Linked DNA regions of Homo sapiens: regions 1, 2 and 4 are each linked to region 3. Evidence: promoter capture Hi-C in 16 types of primary human blood cells and fetal thymus (Javierre and others, 2016). All regions are on one chromosome and are shown on one strand. Each heading gives the region's core, a stretch centred on a gene start or on the middle of the fragment in contact. The rest is flanking DNA. Distances are from core to core; before and after follow the strand shown.

Region 1 (2,700 bases), core at 149-2,648, 170 kb after region 3:
TGTGCTTGGCCTAAGTGTGTTTTTAAGGAGCTTGTTTTCTGTCGATAATGGAGGGCTTCTGCACACTGAGTCCAAGCAGACCCTACAGTGAGAGAGGGCAGCCGACGGGGAAGCCTTCTGAGGAAGCAAACCCATGGCAGTCCCAGGGTGTCAGAACACCCCTGCTGAGTACCTGTTACTTAAGCACACCTTTCCTGCAAAGAAAAGTGGGGTAACTTACGAGGGGGAGCTCAGGCATCAAGTTCAGCTACCCGTGGGTTACCAGAAAGCCTAGCAGATCATCTGCAGCCTGAGTCATGGAACTTGAGCTTACACCTATCAGAGGCCTGCTGTGTTTCAGGCATCGTGCTCAAAGCTTTCCTGACAATTTTCCTCATTTTTCAGATGAAGGAAACCTGAGGCTCAGGTTAAGCCATGTGCTGAGGTCACCTGGTTGGCAAGCAGCAGAGGTAGCTTGAATGCTGGCGGTCAGACTCTGCGGAGTACCCATTTACCCACTAACTCTACCCATCTCCGAGCCAGCGCCCTTCCCTGTGCAGTGCCAGCCCCTCAGGACAGCCCTGCAGAGGTGGGGGAGGCCTGAGACTCAGTAGGTGCAGAAGGCTGCCAGGGCACACAGCCCCACCCGCCCTACGAGGTGAATCACAGCCTTCAGAGCATGCTCTTGCCTCTACCTGCTGCCTCTCAGGCGCCACTGGGGCCAGACCCGGGGGCATCCACCACAAAGTAAGGCTTCTTCATCAAGTGGCCGATACTGAATAGGCCTGTGAGCTTTTACTGAAAGCCACACACAACTTCCCTTTTACCCTTTGAAATAAGTGATATCATTTTCAACACCAGTTATCCATCTCCTGTGTCTTTTAATAGAAGCAGCTCATGGTGTGAGTTGGGGGAGATATAAACACAGGAGGGAAAACTGCTTACCTCACGTCTTTATGGAGAAAGGAGATTAGGCGCTTTAAAGGCAAAATCCTGGCTAGGCTTGGTGGCTCACGCCTGTAATCCCAACACCTTGGGAGGCCAAGGTGGGCGGGGTGCTTGAGCCCAGAAGTTTAAGACTAGCCTGGGCAACGTAGTGAGACCTCATCTCAAAAAATTAAAATAGGCTGGGCACCGTGGCTCATGCCTGTAATCCCAGCACTTTGGGAGGCTGAGGTGGGTGGATTACTTGAGGTCAGGAGTTCAAGACGAGCCTGGCCAACAAGGCAAGAAACCCTCTCTCTACTAAAAATACCAAAAAAAAAAAAAAAAAAAAAAAAAAATTAGCTGGGTATGGTAGCGCATGCCTGTAATCCCAGCTACTTGGGAGGCTGAGGCAGGAGAATCACTTGAACCAGGGAGGGAGAGGTTGCAGTGAGCCAAGATCACACCACTGCACTCCAGCCTGAACAACAGAGCGAGACTCTCTCTCAAAAACTAACTAAATAAAATAAAATAGAAACAAAAATCCAGAGAGCCTCCTAAAACACTGGACTGTAGATTCTCTGGACCTCCAGGCAGGATGTTAGGTAAGCGGGGAGTTGCGGAGAAATGTAATAGGAAAGTGGTCCACTGTGAAGGCTTCACACACAGGCTCCCCGGCAATGCTGCAGACAGCCATCAACATCACTCCGCTGCCTGAGGACATCTGGTATGGAAGAACTCCAGCTGGGTTGTCCATGGTCCCTTTCCTGACAATGGCCCCTAAGAATCATTCCATGAATCCACAAACACAGGAAAGTAACAGCCCATTCTTAAGCTCTTCTTCAACCCAAGAATTTCAAAGTGAAATTCTGACCACACTTGAGGTCCAGAGTTCGAGACCAGACTGGGCAACATAGCGAGTCCCTGTTTCTATTTTTTAAAAAAGTGAATGTCTGACAGCTCACTCCCATGACTGACGCAGCCTGGTCGTATGAGGCAGGTCCCCCTTCTGCGGTTCTTCCAGGGAACCAGAATGCAGGGGACGCATGATTCTACGCAATGGAGTGTTTGGTGGAGAACTAAATAAGCAAGCGTATTTCTGGGACTATTTTAAAATAAACAACGACCAAGCAGAGTTAGGAATGTCTAAACAGATATTCTGAGTGTAAAGGATGGTGGAGGTTTGAGAGAACACAGCTGTGTGGCCTCCAAACACACATGAAGGAGGCAGGAATTCCAACCGCTGGAAGCCTTTTCTGGCACCTCATTGATGAGCAAAGGCAGGGATGGAAAAAACGGAGCAGAGCACAGGGTTGACTGGTTTGGACCGGTGCCTGGCGGTGGCTGGGTGGGCCAGCCCATGCTGCGAGTCATGCCCAGCACCCCTCAGTAGGCTGCCCTATCATTCTTACAGATGCCATTTCCTGAGTCGGGCCCTTCCCTGGCCACCTGGGATATATGGGAAGAATTCCCATAGCCACTTCTGACCAGGTGACCAGGCGACCAGGTGGACATGCTCAGCAGATGGGTAAGCTTCTGCTCGTCATGCTGGCACAGATGACAAAGACCAACAGGGGCCAGTGTGGGACAGAGGGGAGGAACAGGCATTTCCCTGCGCTGTTGGCAGGAGGTTTGATGGGCAGCTTCTTTTATGGAGGGCAATTTGAGCAATTTCACAGCTAGGACTGCCTCCTGACAAAGTGCTGTGTTTGTGAACTGAGTTGCTAAAAGGCTGACCCCTCAGCGTTCTGTAACATGGACAATTGGACACAGCCAATGCATATCAACAAGGGTGAT
Region 2 (2,700 bases), core at 107-2,606, 240 kb after region 3:
ACAGCTGTAGAGTGAGTGGCTCCACTTAATTTTCTAGATGAATGCGGATCAGATCTTCAAATGTCAAGGAAAGGTTTCTTGCTCTTCTTTTTGATAGTTTTATCCAAACAACCCTTATAGGTACTGAAACAACCCTTATAGGTCTGCCAATTCCCTGAAGCTCTATGCAAAGTGCTATGTGGGCATGGGACCAGTTGGTAGCAGGTTTTTGGGGGAAAGGGCTCCCCAGATTCTCACTGCTCTAAAGTGAGTATCATCTTTAGAAGAGGACATCAAAGAGGACTTGACCTCCCCTGATGATCAGGGTCACAGGGAACCTCCTCATAGTGCTACACCTGAAGTTGGCACGGTTCTGTGCCACTCCGGGCCCCAACTCCAATTGTCCCTGTTGTCACTGGCCAGCCTCCCTCCCAAGGTGCGGGCGCCACACTGCTGCCACCAAGGAAAGCAGCTCAGTAGGCTATGTGGATACAGAGTTCCACCTATGGTCCCCAAGGCCGGGACTGAGGCACTGAGGCTGGATTTCCAGGGGGCTCTGACTGAACCTCAGTTATGATACTATTTGGAGTTTGAAGGGACTGAAGCAATAGTTTAATTTGCTTGCTTTTATGATTTCTGTCACGTCTCTGTGTTACCTGTACTATTTTTCATTTTATTTGAACTATTACTTTTTTTTCACTTAAATACAGCTTAAAAGGAAAGTTTAAATCACCGTTATACTCTACAACCTAGCAGCCCACTTGTAGGTCTTTCTCCGCAAGACACACCTCTGGAAGTATGCAACTGCACATGCACAAGGATATTTACTGTAGTATTCTTTGTAATTGCAAAATACTGGAAACTACCTAAATGCCCAGGCATAACAGACCGATGGAATCAACTATGGTACATACACACAGCACAGCTGTGAAAAGGAATGAAGAAGATCTGAGAAATGATATGGAGTAATTTCCGGAGACATTGCTAAGTGGAAGGAACACATATGCTACCCTGTATGTAAGAAAGGAAAAGAAGAAAACATACACAAATCTGCTTATTTTTACAGAAAGAAACACAGGAAGGAGACTTCTTCAGTACACAATCAAGTTGGTTATCTATAAGAGATGACAGGAATTAAGTGGAAGGGAGGAAGGATACTTCAGTTTGCTAATATTCCATGCATTTTTAAAATGAAAATTAAATCAATGAGAATGAGAAAGAAGAAGCCTAAACTGGAAATTTTAAAAAAGAATCCAAATTTCTTCTTCTTCTTCTTCTTCTTTTTTTTGAGACAGAGTCTCACTCTGTTGCCCAGGCTGGAGTGCAGTGGCATGATCTCAGCTCACTACAACTTCTGCCTCCCAAGTTCAAGCAATTCTCCTGCCTCAGCCTCCCGAGTAGCTAGGATTACAGGTGTACGCCACCATGCCCGGCTCATTTTTGTATTTTTATTTATTTATTTATTTTTGAGACAGAGTCTCACTCCATCGCCTAGGCTGGAGTGCGGTGGCGTGATCTTGGCTCACTGCAACCTCTGCCTCCCAGTCTAACGGGATTCTCCAGCCTCAGCCTCCCCGAATAGCTGGGACTATAGGTACACATCACCATGCCTGGCTAATTTTTTTGTATTTTCAGGGCTCCACCATGTTGGTCAGGTTGGTCTCGAACTCCTGACCTCAAATGATCTGCCTGCCTTGGCCTCCCAAAGTTCTGGGATTACAGGTGTGAGCCAGCACACCTGGCCTCATTTTTGTATTTTTAGCAGAGATGGGGTTTCACCATGTTGGCCAGGCTGGTCTCAAACTCCTGATTTCAAATGATCCGCCCATCTCAGCCTCCCAAAGTGGTGGGATTACAGGTGTGAGCCACCATGCCTAGCCTGAATCCAAATTTATTTTAAATGAATACCAAATCCACTCTGAATGGGGAAAGGAAGGATGCTCAGATTAATCCAAGTAGCTTATAAACACAATACAGCAGATCTTTGAATAACATCATTTCATTCAACATTGTTGCATTATAACATGGATGAGGATAAAAAGAAAAAAACTGATTCCCAGTCCCGGCCACCGTCTATGTGGAGTCTGCATGTTCTCGCCATGTCTGCATGGGTTTTTGCCACATATTCTGGTTTCCTCCCTCATCCCAGAGATGTACATGTTAAGTTCCCTGGCATGTCCACACAGGCGCAGTCTGAGTGAGTGTGGGGGCGTGTGAGTTTGTCCTGTGACAGGATGGTGCCCTGTCCAGAGTTGGCTCCCACCTGGCGTCCTGAAGTACCCAGGCACTGGTCATACAAGATCCTAAACTGGAAATATGCGAGTTGGAAAATAAATGAATACAAATGATTGTCAAATAACAATTCATAAAGTAGACGATAATACAAATGCATGACAATAAATGATGTGGTATGAAAGCATTCAACAAGCCTACCAGATTTGTGATTGGTTTTGAACCTCGTGCAGGAAGGAGGTGCTCCTTATGATTTTTCACTTTGCAAACATTTATTCCTTGATTTAACCCACCACCACCATGACTGCTGTTCATTCATTAATTCACCAAAAATCGGGTAAGTAATTATCTTACATGTTTTCATAAATCTTTCTTTTTTTTTTTTTTTTTTTTTTTTTTTGAGACGGAGTCTCACTCTATCGCCCAGGCTGGAGTGCAGTGGCGTGATCTCGGCTCACCACAAGCTCCGCCTCCCGGGTTCACGCCATT
Region 3 (2,700 bases), core at 179-2,678:
GATTCAGGGCACTGATGGGGTGCTAAGCTGGGCTGATTCTGGGCCACTCCCTGTGTTCAGGAGGTTAATAAGGACCTAGGCTCTGCCTGGGGAAAGAGGTATCGTGGGGCCAGGGAGGCGGGAAGGGACTGGGCACCAGGGCTTCCAGGAGAGAAGCCGTCTGAGAGCTGTCTGTAGAGGGCAGTGTGTCCCAGTGTGAGGCCAGTAACCAAGTGCCCAGCCTAGCCAGGTTTTTATGTGGCCCCTTGTGATGCTGGGGCTCCTCACATGCCTTCATTCAAAAATACACGGAGCAGCCAGGCACCTACTCCATGGCCTCGCACGACAATCGGAATCACTAAATCACAAACACGTGTGCAAATTACAGCCCCGACCACCGACCGCCCACCATCCCAAGCCCCGGCCGTGTGTGTGGTGGGAAGGCAGTCTTTGAAGGGCAGATGCCTGACGGAGCAGTAGGAGGGGGAAATCTATGAGGAAGGGGTCGGGGGAGAGGAGGGCTAGGAAACCAGGTTTGGGGATTCATCACGTCTGAGAATGCACCATTTTTTCACTGGGCTCCAATTTGATGTCGTCCAGCTGCACCTCTCCCCAAAATGAAGACGGGGAAGGCGAGATCCAGGTCCAGAGCTCCCAATCTGCAAGCCATTGCAAATCCCAGCCCCTCCCCAGCCTCAGTTTCTTCCGCAGCCGGGTAGTGGGAGCGCAGGGAGGGCAGTCGAGGCCACCAGGGACCTTGCCCGGCCCCGCCCAGTTTCCGAGGAACTGGGCCGGGGTGGAGGCGCCCGCGCCGCCAGGGGTTCCTCTGAAGCCTGTGGTCAGGCCGCCGCTTCCCGGGAAGCCCGAGCCAAGACCAGAGACCGCGGCCGGCCGGGGCTTCGGGACAGCAGGGCGGGCGACTGAGGGCGTCGACGGCGGGTGGAGCAGGGGCTAGGAGGGGGTCTACGGGTGGGGTCAGGCTCAGGGTTGGGGACACCTTCTGTGGCCTCCTAGGGGGATCTGGCTGCAGGGGAGGAGAGGACAGGGCTCTGCCCCCGGCGGGTGTGGAGACAGCTGGGGCGGAGGAGGGTGTGTCAGGGCGCGTCCCAAGAGGGCCTGGCGGCAGAAAGTGGAACCCGAGGTAGCGGGGCAAAATCGGGGTCGCCAAGTCCGAAGGAGGGGTCCGAGAAGTGGCCGGAAGGCGCAGGGTCGGGGCCAGAGCCCCTCGAGAGGCGGGTGCTGGGGCAGGTGCGAACAGGCGGGCAGAGGGCCCCGCGGGAGGGTCCAGAAGAGAGGGAAACAGGGCCGAAGCGGTCCTCGCCGGACGCCACCGCGGAAAGAGAAACCAAAAGTGGAGCTGGGGGCGGGGCCGGCAGGGGGCGGGGCCTCCCGCCGTCGCCAGCCCCGCCTCCGAGCCGGTTTAAAAGACTGGCGCAGGGGCGGGCGCCGAACAGAGCGAGCTGCGGCCGTGGCAGCTGCACGGCTCCTGGCCCCGGAGCATGCGCGAGAGCCGCCCCGGAGCGCCCCGGAGCCCCCCGCCGTCCCGCCCGCGGCGTCCCGCGCCCCGCCGCCAGGTGAGCCGGGCCCTGGGCGAGGAGGCGGGAGGGAGGAGGGAGGGGAGTCCAGGGCAGCCAGGAGTCGGGCGAGCCTCGGGGGCTGCAGAATGGGGTCGCGGCCGCGATGCCCCTGACCCTCGCCGGCCCCACCCAGGCCGCCCCCCGCGCGCGGGGCTCCCGCAGCACAGCCTTTCTCCGGCCCTAGCCCAAATCGCCCAGACCAGGCGCGGATCCCAGCCTGGCCAGCAGGCGGCGGGCGCGGGGCGGCGAGCCGGGGCCGGACGGCTGGAGCCAGAACCGGCTGCTCTCCACGCCCCCCTCTCGGTGCTGCCCGGAGGCCGGACTCCGCCTCCACCGAGCCCCCACCCGCCGGGAAGAGCTCCGCGGAGTACAGAGCCCATTTTCTAGCTGTGTCCACTGAGGCTGAACGGATCCGCGCGGACTTGGTGCTCCGTGCTCGCCCCCTAGGGCCGGGTCCGCCGGGAGCGCCGCCCTCCGGAGTTGTCCGGCCGGCGCACACCTGCCCGGCCCCGCAGCGCCCCAGCTCACCTCTTTGTCTCTCCCGCAGCGCACCCCCGGACGCTATGGCCCACCCCTCCGGCTGGCCCCTTCTGTAGGATGGTAGCACACAACCAGGTGGCAGCCGACAATGCAGTCTCCACAGCAGCAGAGCCCCGACGGCGGCCAGAACCTTCCTCCTCTTCCTCCTCCTCGCCCGCGGCCCCCGCGCGCCCGCGGCCGTGCCCCGCGGTCCCGGCCCCGGCCCCCGGCGACACGCACTTCCGCACATTCCGTTCGCACGCCGATTACCGGCGCATCACGCGCGCCAGCGCGCTCCTGGACGCCTGCGGATTCTACTGGGGGCCCCTGAGCGTGCACGGGGCGCACGAGCGGCTGCGCGCCGAGCCCGTGGGCACCTTCCTGGTGCGCGACAGCCGCCAGCGGAACTGCTTTTTCGCCCTTAGCGTGAAGATGGCCTCGGGACCCACGAGCATCCGCGTGCACTTTCAGGCCGGCCGCTTTCACCTGGATGGCAGCCGCGAGAGCTTCGACTGCCTCTTCGAGCTGCTGGAGCACTACGTGGCGGCGCCGCGCCGCATGCTGGGGGCCCCGCTGCGCCAGCGCCGCGTGCGGCCGCTGCAGGAGCTGTGCCGCCAGCGCATCG
Region 4 (2,700 bases), core at 23-2,522, 220 kb after region 3:
CACCCAGGGCTCAGGCTCCCAGTGGGGTCTGCTTCCTACAACTGCGTGGCCCTGTGGACAGACAACACCCCAAGTGGGCACCTGGCTGGGCAGCGTTGTTCATGATCCTGATGAGTCTTTCAGCTAGCGGGTGGTTGTAGGTGGTCTTCTCGGCCGCATTTGGCACGGGGAGCTGGATTCGCTCTAATTTTTCAGGATCCATGCCTGGAACAGAGGAGAAGGATGTAAGTGGAGGCCTCCTGACTACCTGACCTCCTCATACCGAAAGGTCCTGTAGAGTGGGGTTTCCTCAACTTCAGCCACATATGTTCCCTCTTGGTGATTTCTTTTCCTTTTTCTTTTCTTTTTTTTAGTTTTTAATAGAGACAGGATTTTGTCATGTTTCCCAGGCTGGACTTGAACTCCTGGGCTTCCCCAAGTGCTGGGCCTCCCAAATTGCTGGGATTACTGTTGTGAGCCACTGCGCCTGTCCCCTCTTGGCAACTGCTGTCATGACTGGTTGCTGTTGGTGCCATAACTTATCGCAGAGCTCTCCATAAACTGAACTTACATAAATGTATTAAAACATACATTTTCTATTTCTTATAAATAGGAAATCAGGATTGATGCAATAATTGCCAGTAATAATATTTTAAAAATCAAAAAATGTTTTTGCATGCTAGCCAATGACTTTTGACTGCCTACTCATGGTGGCCCAAGACCTGATCTTTGTTAAAAAGGGAGGTTGGCAGGTACTTAATAGTGTTGGAGAGAAGCTAGCCCCAAATGGTGGCATTCTCCTAGACACAGGGAAGGGAGTAGAAAAAGGGGACACCATCCCATAGCACAACTCACTGCCACTGTGTGCCAGGTCTGAGGGCCACCTGAGGCCACTCCCGTATTACGCACCTTCTACGCTTGAGGAAATCCAGGCCTAGAGAAAGAGAGACTAGACACGAAGGAAATACAGTCATCCCCAACAATTGTGCCCTCAAGCTTTTAATGACAAACTCAAAAGCTGAGCCCCACCCTCAACACATGTAGGAGGAATCAAGTTGTGAGCCAGGTGAGGCAGAGGCCACGCCTGCCCCTGAGGGTGACATTAGCAGAAAGACACTAAGCTAAGCCTTTCTTACAGAAAGGTGCACATATTAGGTTGGCACAAAAGTAATTGCAGTTTTTGCCATTAAAAGCAATTGGAACACCGCAATTACTTTTGTGCCAACCTAATACAATGACACCAATACAGCAGAGATCTATCATTAAGAGGCAAGGGAATCATTTTTCCTCCAGTGAAAATTCAACAATTCTTCCTGCCAAAACTAACAGCATTTGAAAGATAAAATATTAGATGGGGGTGGGGAAGGTAAGTGGGAAAGGAAAGAAGAACAGGCAAGTGTGTGACTTTGAGCCCTGTTGTCATTTCTCCTAAAGAAGCACACAGGACCTGCAGTGACAGAAGACCTGTTAGGGCTACTAGAACAGTTCCTGCCTGGAGTAAGAGGTCTTCAAACTCCTTATCTGCTCAACTGACGTGGCTCTTCAAAAATACACTTACAGAAACAAATATTTTGCTTGATCCAAGCTTGGAGAACTGAATGGATTATTTGCGCTTGTACCACGTCTTTTCCTGTTACTCTACAAAAGGGGGAAAGGTGGCACTTCTCGGAACTCTTAAAATACGGTCCCTTGAGTACCAGATGACGCTTCATTTAGAACCTTGACAAAATAGTGGAAGATAGCATTGAAGAGATGATTGTCTGGATTCTAAGTAACTCCTGCACATGCACATTGATGTAATAAGAAGTAACAATATATCTTGCTTTTCTGAATTCCTTCCAGCTCCCAGAAAGAGGCTAAGTCATACCAAGGAGATGACCTGGGTGAGGGACGGCCTAAAGACTTGAGTAGGGTAGTAGTCTCTCTCATGCCCCAAAACGCCCCACAAATGTGGGTTTCCTCAAAAAATTTCATTGCAGTGAAAATTTAATTTGTGGCTTCTGTATCCCATGTTAATGCTAAATGTGTAACTCTGAAGGATTCTGGCTTATTGAATGGCAAGAAGAATGTCAACTGAATCTTTCTGGCATTTGTTTTTTCCAGAGATGTTAACACTGTCCTAACATCTCTCTACTCGTTAATTTCTGGCCCTTTGAGAACTGCCAGTCAGTGGTTCTGGGGGTGGGGGTGGGGGTGGGGGTGGGGAATAAAAGCTCCTCTGTGTCCCAGGTGCATTGCCCAACTTTATAACCCATCAGCAGTCACTCCGCTTCAGAGAGGATAGCAGAAAGGGCCTGGCTGCTCGCTCCTTCTAGAATGGGGCAGTGGCCACAGAACCATGGAAAGAGGCAAACTAGGACCAGGCCTTGAATTTCCAGAGAGAGGTCCATTTTGTTTCTTTCCTATCATTGCCCCTCCGTCTCCTTAGAATTTGTGGACAGTGAGGAAATCTGGGGCAAGCTCTTTTCTTGACAGGAAGAAAAGCGTCCCAAGATGATCTCGACTTTTCTCAACTCTCCGTGAAGGGAAGGTCCCAGAGGATAGAAACACTTCTCTCTGTACCAGGTTCCAAGTCCAGCCTTTTCCTTTCATGAGGAAGTTAAGGCCCAGAGTTGTTATGTTGTTTCCCCAAGGTCACAGAGCAAGTCAGAGACACAGCTCAAACCACTTTCAGGTGATCCCGAAGGTGGGTGGGGTCCAAATGGGAAAGGGTGGCAGCAC

Evidence for each region. Contacts are between HindIII fragments. The CHiCAGO score rates a contact against its expected background, and 5 or more counts as called.
Region 1: a fragment that was not itself captured here is called in contact with the fragment with the promoter of SOCS1 in region 3 in 1 of 17 cell types (fetal thymus); the score reaches 5.6 in fetal thymus.
Region 2: a fragment that was not itself captured here is called in contact with the fragment with the promoter of SOCS1 in region 3 in 1 of 17 cell types (activated CD4 T cells); the score reaches 5.2 in activated CD4 T cells.
Region 4: a contact is called between a fragment that was not itself captured here and the fragment with the promoter of SOCS1 in region 3, in 1 of 17 cell types (non-activated CD4 T cells). The highest score is 5.2, in non-activated CD4 T cells.

The regions. Positions count from the first base shown.
Region 1 is chr16:11,089,374-11,092,073 of GRCh38, reverse strand. The region is part of intron 19 of CLEC16A (C-type lectin domain containing 16A); the gene reads right to left. Among named protein-coding and RNA genes, the nearest start is that of CLEC16A, 150 kb to the right of the region's middle. RefSeq lists an enhancer at 573-662. The HindIII fragment of the contact is 2,081 bases long and covers 358-2,438 here.
Region 2 is chr16:11,012,506-11,015,205 of GRCh38, reverse strand. All of the region lies in intron 11 of CLEC16A (C-type lectin domain containing 16A), which reads right to left. Among named protein-coding and RNA genes, the nearest start is that of CLEC16A, 69 kb to the right of the region's middle. The HindIII fragment of the contact is 3,806 bases long and covers 1-2,700 here.
Region 3 is chr16:11,254,932-11,257,631 of GRCh38, reverse strand. It overlaps SOCS1 (suppressor of cytokine signaling 1), which reads left to right and starts at 1,428. Exons shown (of 2, transcript NM_003745.2): 1 at 1,428-1,553; 2 at 2,104-2,700. The coding sequence starts at 2,154. All of the region lies in intron 1 of LOC105371082 (a long non-coding RNA gene), which reads right to left. RefSeq lists silencers at 783-982, 1,233-1,972, 2,073-2,122, 2,133-2,282, 2,693-2,700. The HindIII fragment of the contact is 18,048 bases long and covers 1-2,700 here.
Region 4 is chr16:11,037,258-11,039,957 of GRCh38, reverse strand. CLEC16A (C-type lectin domain containing 16A) reads right to left here. Exons shown (of 24, transcript NM_015226.3): 14 at 82-204. Among named protein-coding and RNA genes, the nearest start is that of CLEC16A, 94 kb to the right of the region's middle. The HindIII fragment of the contact is 589 bases long and covers 978-1,566 here.